Linked DNA regions of Homo sapiens: region 2 is linked to region 1. Evidence: promoter capture Hi-C in 16 types of primary human blood cells and fetal thymus (Javierre and others, 2016). All regions are on one chromosome and are shown on one strand. Each heading gives the region's core, a stretch centred on a gene start or on the middle of the fragment in contact. The rest is flanking DNA. Distances are from core to core; before and after follow the strand shown.

Region 1 (4,071 bases), core at 465-2,964:
GAAAAAAAATAAAAGAAAATAAAATTTTAGCTGAAGAATGCAAGCCCCTTTAAATTATCAGGCCCAGAGAGGCATTAGAATGAAAAAACAGTCCCGTCTCACTCCCGGTCTGAGCTGGATAATTATCTCTTAAAGCCCACCTGCTATATGGGCTCTAGACTGGAACCAAGAAGCCATAAAATGCCATATGCTGGACACGATAACTCATACCCTATGAGTTACAGTGTACAGCCAATCACTAAGCAATGGTATCTCTGTAAACCAATAACAATTCCTGACCAACTTTGTCTCAGCCCACTCTTCCCCTTCGCCTTTAAAAACCTGCTTGTAACCAAGGCTGAAGGAGCACTCCCCAAGGCAACTGGGAAATGAGTCCTGGGCAGCTGTCCTCATTTTGGCTGAAGTAAACACTTTAAATTATAATTTTGTGCCCCAGCCTCTTCCTTTTAGGTAGACACCACTATTCAATGACATCAAGATCTGAACTGTCCTACTTATCCCAATATCCCACCCCTAAAAAGAAATGTACCGAACCATAAAAAGCCTGAAGTACTCCGACTTACAGACTCCTGTATTAGCATCCTAAGAATTATATTACCCTCTTCAATAGGGAGTAGTATTTTTCATATCAAACCTAGCCTGAGAACAACTGAGATTCAACTAGGAAAAAAAGAAAAGAAAATCCATTAAAGACTGAGTGATTTGAACTCAAAAATATCCATCATCACTTGCTAAATCATAGACAGCAGGTTATTTCCCTCGACTTTGCTGTGCAGACCTGTAGTGGCTCAATTTCTGCCATAATAAAGGCCGTACTAGAAAGAGCAATCCTAACTAAGCGCGCAAGGTAAACATCAAGCTGGGGCCGTCAGGGGCGGGGAAACACTTTCTGAATGGCGGAAGCTCCGAGAGACGCCTTTCCCAGCTGCTCCAGAGGGGAAAGGAAAAGGGAGAAAGTCTGTTTTTCCAGAATCTCCCAAACACAGCCCAGGGGCCTGCTCCGCGGGCCTAAGCGCCTCCACGTGTCTCAGAAGCCTAGCACTATAGATACCCCGGGGCACGGAGCTGGGAAAACGGGAATAGGAAGACACTTTACCCCGAGAAGATCCAGTCCAACAGGTCTTCTTCAGCCGGATGACTGTGGAGCGCCACCACAAGCAGGGCCTGCAACCCAGGCATCCAGGCTAGACACCAAATCAGCAAACTTTATTCCCGCGCTGCCGAGTACAAGCCGGCGCCTCCCCGGCGCACACAGTACACATCAGCTCCGGGAGACCTACCCGACCCGCCCCTCCAGCGCCGTCCCCGCCCCCGTTCCTGCCCCACCCCTTTCCCCGCCCCCGGCCCGGCTCGCCTTTCTCGCGGCGCTGCAACCCTCCCACCACAGCCCATCCAGCCCCGCCCAGCGCGCCGCGGTGCGCATGCGTGGAGGCCCTCGCTGCCGCTGAGCACCTCGGGAAGTGTAGTCTCTTCGCAGGTGCGGCTGGGCAGCTAGAGTCCTGCATCCCGGTGGAATCCGGAGAAGTGAGAACATTCCCGCCGCCCGGTCCTCATTCCCATCTTCCCACCTGTCCAGTCCCCTCGCACTCCCGCTGCACCCCACGCGCCGGGCTTCAGTCAGAGAGTGCACTGAGGAAGAGCGGAGACCCCCTCTTCCCCTCAGCAGGCTGTGCCGGGGGAGGCGGGGTCCACCGCCCGCCCCCCGCCGTCGCTCTCCCCGCCTCCCCTTCCCTCCCCTCCTGGCGGGTGCGGGGCCGGTGTCCGAAGTCAGGCGGCGGCCCCCGCAGCGGCCGCAGGAGGGGCGGCTGCGGTGGGCGCCGCGGGCGATGCCCCTGCCCGGCTGCTCCGGCGGGGGGCAGTGCGAGCGGCGGCGGCGGGGGAGGAGGCGGGGGGCGGCGGCTGCGGCGGCTGCAGCAGAGGGGCCGAGAGCTGGCGGTGGCGGCGGCGGTGGTCGTGAAGGGCATCGGCGGCGGCGGTGATGGCAGAGATGATGTGAGTGCCCGCCGGCTGGAGACCTGGGGCCGCGGAGCGCGGGACGGGCGGCGGCGGCGTGCGGGAGCGGCCCCGGGGGCGGCGGAGGGATGCGGGGAGCGCGGGCAGAGCCGGAGCGGCGGCCGCCAACCGGCCGGCAGTGGCTGGAGCCCCGCGCTGCGGCGCCGGGGGAGCCGGGCCCGGCGTGGGGGTCGCGGGCGGCGGCGGGGCGGTCAGGCCGAGGGGCGTCTGCGATTGTTCTCAACACCCCTCCCCCACCCCATCCCGTGTGTCTGTTTGTTACTTGCAGCTGAAGATGGAAAGAGCCAGGCGAAGGGGAGGCGGCGGCGGCCGCGGCCGCGGAGGCAAGAATGTAGGGGGCTCTGGCCTAAGCAAGAGTAGACTCTATCCCCAGGCCCAGCACTCCCACTACCCCCACTACGCGGCCTCAGCCACCCCTAATCAGGCCGGGGGCGCAGCCGAAATCCAGGAGCTGGCCTCCAAACGAGTGGACATCCAGAAAAAGAGGTTTTACCTAGACGTGAAGCAAAGCTCCCGGGGCCGCTTCCTAAAGATAGCCGAAGTCTGGATAGGGAGAGGCCGGCAGGACAACATCAGAAAGAGTAAACTGACCCTCTCCCTGTCTGTGGCAGCGGAGCTGAAGGACTGTCTAGGGGACTTCATCGAGCACTATGCCCACCTGGGCCTGAAAGGCCACCGGCAAGAGCATGGCCACAGCAAAGAGCAAGGCTCCAGAAGGAGGCAGAAGCACTCGGCACCCTCCCCACCAGTCTCGGTGGGGTCCGAAGAGCATCCTCACAGTGTCCTGAAAACAGACTATATCGAGAGGGACAATAGGAAATATTACCTAGACCTAAAGGAAAATCAGCGGGGTCGCTTCCTACGGATTAGACAAACCATGATGCGGGGGACTGGCATGATAGGTTATTTTGGCCACAGTTTGGGCCAAGAACAGACTATTGTCCTCCCAGCACAAGGAATGATTGAGTTTCGTGATGCCTTGGTTCAGCTGATTGAAGACTATGGCGAAGGAGACATAGAAGAACGAAGAGGTGGAGACGATGACCCGCTTGAACTCCCAGAGGGGACTTCTTTCAGAGTGGACAATAAAAGGTTCTACTTTGATGTGGGCTCTAATAAATATGGAATTTTCCTGAAGGTAAGTGAGGTGAGACCACCTTACCGTAATACTATTACTGTTCCATTCAAAGCTTGGACAAGGTTTGGGGAGAATTTTATCAAGTATGAAGAAGAGATGAGGAAAATTTGCAACAGCCATAAAGAAAAGAGAATGGATGGCAGAAAGGCCAGTGGTGAAGAACAAGAATGCCTCGACTAGAGTGAAATTGAACTCCATCAGGCAAAATTTAAAATCACAAATTGGCTAAAAGTACTGATCCATTATCCTTTGAAGAAGTTTTTCCTCTTTTTTGGCCCGTTGTTATTAGTAATACCTCTAGTAGTTGATACTTCAGGAAGTCTGATTCTCATGTTATGTTACACATAGATCACTATAATTCTTACGGGAATTCCAACCTTCCCAGAGCTAAATAGTTTAGCTGCTTCAACTGCTCCAGACTATTGAAGTATGCAAATCAGCACAAAATGTGACATTCTGACATTCTAAATACCATAACTAAGATTTACATTGCACTATGACATAATCCCGAAAAAAGATACATATACTTAAATAGAAGTGTGACTTTCCCCCAAAAGTATTTCAATTCTACTTCATTAAAAGCTGCTAAGCTTACCTGTAGGGCAGTTACCACAGAAACAGAAATTGACCTCCGGTATATATAAATATTTACTTATAAAAGTACAAGTAGACGTATATTGTCCGTTGAATAACTGAATATACCATCAAAGGATCAAATCTTATTACCTAATTAAACCTTAAAAATATAATGTCATAATATTTCTTAAGAATACTATAGTATTCTATAATTTCAAACTTTGTGGTAACCCTACATTTTATAGTTGCCATATCAAAGCCATGGGAGAGTTTTAATTCGTTATTCTAAGTTTAGTTACAATCCCTTCTTTACCTCTACTTAATGTTCCATATATTTTTATTGA
Region 2 (4,071 bases), core at 680-3,179, 880 kb after region 1:
CCCTCCAGAGACAGGAAGGGCCTGGGGTGCGGCCAGCACTGGCGTGGGGGTCTCGCAACATGCAGCAGAGAATCCAGCGCCAAGCCGTGGGGTACAGCGGCGCCAAGCACCGCCGATTATGCGGGAGAAGGGAGCCGGCCTTCCCCAGGAAAAAGCTGACGTCACCCTCCCCTCACAGCCCCCCCCGCCCTCCCGGCCGGGAGACCCCCTCTGCGCAGGCGCATGTGGGGAGGGACGGCCAGACAGGAACAAAAACCTTCCAGGCAGCGACTCCGCGTCCCTTCTCAACCCTCCCCGCCCCCACTCCGTCGCCCCCTCCCTCAGTGGACGCCAGGTCTGGGCTTCAGGTACCTTCGGCCCGAATGCCCAGGATGAGACACCTTCTGAGTCGCCACCATTGGCGACCAGGAACAGGTTCCACCCCTACGGAAAGCTGAGAAAAGGCTTTTCTCAAGCAGCAAACCCACCTCTTTTGAGTCTTCTCCGCCATGGTACGGCCCCAATTGGAACGTAGATCGACACCACCGCCTGGGTAGAGCGATAATTCCACATGCGATTGGAGAGCCTGGCAGGGTTGGGGGAGGGGCGGAGCCGGGGTGGGGCGGGGACCCGGAAGCTTGCGACTCTTGTTTGCGTCGCGTCTGGGCGCACAGGACTGTACTTTTGGTAGCGGTGCGGGGCCGCCCGCGGACTTTAGCCCTGCATAGAGATGGGTAGACCCTAATTTGGAACAGCCATTGACTGGGCACAGGCCAGCACTTTGGGAGGCCGAGAGGCCGAGGCAGGAGGATCGCTTGAGGCCAGGAGTGCCAGACTGCGAGACTAGCCTGGGTAACATAGTGAGACCCTCTCTTCAAAAAAAAAAAAAAAAAAAAAAAAAAAAAGCCTGTCACGGTGGCCTGCGCCTGTACCCCAGCTACTCGAGAGGATCGCCTGAGCCCAGTGAAGCTGCAGCGAGCTGTGAGGATGCCACCGCACTCCGGCCTGGGCTAAAAAGCTAGATCGTGTCTCTGATAAAAGAATAAAAGCTGTTTATTGCAATCCAGTCCGCGTCATTATGCCCTCATTTTACCCACTCGCGTAGGCGTAATTACACCCTAAAGGTATTTCTCTGACCTCGCCGATGTCCTTTTCAGCCTGTCTTTCTCTACTCATTAGGGCTCCTTCTGGCCCTTTTCTCGCTCTATATGAGTGCATCCTTCCTATAGGTTAAGTGCCCTCTACCTGTTTGCTCTCTAATGAATGTCTCTGGTTCTGCCCTCTGTGCCGATCTTCACACCTGACATTCGGTTGACTAATTGACATCTCCGCTCAGAGTCGTATCGAACCTAAAACTTACAGAACATGACTTTCGATTAACACTGCCGTCCTCCCTGCAACCTGCTGCTTTTTTGATCCACACCATTTGCCTAGCTGCTCAAGCCAGACACTCAAGAGTCACCCTGGCACTCCTCACCCCTACATCTGTAATAGATCTGCAAGTTCTGCTTGTCCTACCTCGGGTCTCATGCTTACACTTTTGTCTACCGGACCATCTCTCTAATCTCAGCCGATGTGTCTCTCCCAGTTGTTCACTCATTCTGTACTTGGCCTCTGAAATCACACCTCCTCATCTCCCACCCCCAACCCTGATCCAAGTAGTTCTCTTGTAGTCAAAATCATCCTTTAAAAGACAAATTGAGGCCAGGCGCGTGGCTCAAACCGGTAATCCCAGCACTTTGGGGGGCCGAGATGGGAGGATCGCTTGAGGCCAGGAGTTGGAGACCAGCCTGGTCAACACAGCATGATCCCGTCTCTATATATTTTTTCTATAATGTATTTTTTTAATGGAAAAAAATTAAAAATAAGAGCCAAATTCAGTTATTTCCCCTTCCTCTTAAAATCTAAAATCCAAACTGCTTTCCATAACCTATCTCTGAGCTACATCCAGCCCCTGCCTACTTCTCTCTTTCTCTTTCTATGTGTTCGATCACACCCTCATTCTCCAAAAAAGCAAAGCTGACTCTCCACCCCCAACCGCTTCCACTTGCCCCCACCCTAACACCTTCTGACCCTTTATGTCTCGGATGTCACATACTCAGTTTCCAACCAGAGAAACAGAACTAGTAGTAGATGGATATCAAAAGGCTTATTGTAAGGAATTGGCTTACATGATTGTGGAGCCCCAGCTAAGCAAGTCCAAAATCTGTACACTAAGCTGGAACTCTCATGCAAGGGGTGAGGCTGTTGTTCACAGGAGGAATTTCTTCAGGGAAGCCCATCTCAGCTCTTATGGCCTTCAACTGATTGAATCAGGCCCACCCAGATTAGCTAGGATAATCTCTCTTCCTTAAAGTGAACTGATGATGGGCTTTAATCACATCCACAAAAATACCTTTACAGCAGCATCTAGATTAGTGTTTGACTAATGACTTGGGAATGTAGCCTAACCAAGTTGACACAAAAAACTGACCATCACACTCAGGGAAACCCTCCTTGACTGTCTTAGTTCTTTCTGGCTGCTATAACAAAATACAGTTGGCCCTTTGTATCTGTGGGTTTGACATCTGTGACTGGTTGACAGCAACCCACGTTGGATCAAAAATTTGGGGGAAAAAATTACGCAAGTTTCCAAAAAGCAAAACTTGAATTTGCTGCATGCCAAGTGCTACATTGAAGCCACATGAATGAAGTGATATGTAGGAATTGTATTAGATATTCTGAATAATATAAAGATGATTGAAAGGATATGGGAGGATATGCATCAGTTAGTTATATGCAAATACTACACCATTTTATATCAGGGGCTTGAGCATCTGCAGATTTTGGCATCAGGGTGTCCAGGAACCAGTTCCCCAAGCATACTGAGGGACAGTTATACCTTAGACTGGGTATAGTAGTCCTTTCTTATCCTCGGGGGATACATTCCAAGACCTCTAGTGGATGCCTGAAACCACAGATAATACTGAACCCTCTATATACTATGCACACATTTCCTTTTCCTCATTAACAGTTTCATGGGTAAAAGATTTATTCTTACCATAGATCTTAGCAACCTCAGCATATAGTTTTTTTTCTTTCCTTTTGAAATCAAGAAGTTTTCACATTTTCACTTAAAGCATTTTACAGTTTCTCTTTGGCAGATCCAAATCACCTGCATCGCTACTTTTGTGCTTTGGGGCCATTATGAAGTAAAATAAGAGTGACTTGAACACAAGTACTCTGATACTGCAACAATGTATCTGATAACTGAGAAAGCTTTAATGGGCAGGTAGTACCAACAGTGTGGATACAAAGGGATGATTCATGTTCTTGCCTAGAGAGAGCAGCATGGTACGAGAGTTCATCATGCTACTCAAAATGGTGTGCAATTTAAAACTCACAAATTGTTTATTTCTGGAATTTTCTATTTAATATTTTTGGACTGATGTTGACTACAGGTTACTGAAACCACAGAAGATGAAACCATGGATAAGTGCGACTACTGTTATTTATAAACAAAGACATTTATTGCTCACAGTCCTAGAGGCTGGGGAGTCCAAGATCAAAGCGCTGGACATTCTGTGTCTGATGAGAGCCCTCATCACCTAATCACCTCCCAAATGTCCCACCTCTTAATTGCCAAGTAGTCAATAAAATATCAGATGTGAGGCTCGGCAGAGAGGACAGAACCTTGAAGGTATTATTTCAACATATGAATTCTGGAGGGACAAAAACATTCAGACCATAGCACCATCTAATCAAAAATAGGCTACCCTTCCTATTCTAATTATTTTCTCTGTGGGGTAAGGATTGCACTCATCACCAGCTATACTTACTTATCTTACCATTTCCTCCAAAGACTTAAGTTCCATGAAGTTAGAGCCATGTGAGTTTTGTTCCCACTCTTTACTCAGCACCAACCACAGTGCCTGGTGCATGGTTGATATTCCTCTAAACTTGTTGAATAAGTATATGAATGAATTTAGAGTGTTTTGTCACTGCCAACCATGTAAACACCTATCCATTTTCAAGCAATGTGTATTTATATTAATTTGAAAGACTTCTATGGCATACTTATAAAGGATCATTTTATCAGTATTAGGTACAGTG

Evidence for each region. The method cuts DNA at HindIII sites, captures the fragments that hold promoters and counts their contacts. A CHiCAGO score of 5 or more calls a contact.
Region 2: a fragment that was not itself captured here is called in contact with the fragment with the promoter of PURG in region 1 in 1 of 17 cell types (fetal thymus); the score reaches 5.8 in fetal thymus.

The regions. Positions count from the first base shown.
Region 1 is chr8:31,030,999-31,035,069 of GRCh38, reverse strand. PURG (purine rich element binding protein G) reads left to right here and starts at 1,714. Exons shown (of 2, transcript NM_001323311.2): 1 at 1,714-1,992; 2 at 2,282-4,071. The coding sequence starts at 2,288. The coding sequence ends at 3,331. It overlaps WRN (WRN RecQ like helicase), which reads right to left and starts at 1,260. Exons shown (of 35, transcript NM_000553.6): 1 at 1,097-1,260. RefSeq lists enhancers at 103-152, 986-1,507 and silencers at 223-292, 1,263-1,522, 1,683-1,732. The HindIII fragment of the contact is 5,494 bases long and covers 1-3,205 here.
Region 2 is chr8:30,152,803-30,156,873 of GRCh38, reverse strand. DCTN6-DT (DCTN6 divergent transcript) reads left to right here and starts at 214. Exons shown (of 1, transcript NR_186490.1): 1 at 214-1,045. DCTN6 (dynactin subunit 6) reads right to left here and starts at 505. Exons shown (of 7, transcript NM_006571.4): 1 at 468-505. The coding sequence starts at 490. RefSeq lists a silencer at 135-244 and enhancers at 305-454, 398-1,380, 1,205-1,414. The HindIII fragment of the contact is 2,621 bases long and covers 619-3,239 here.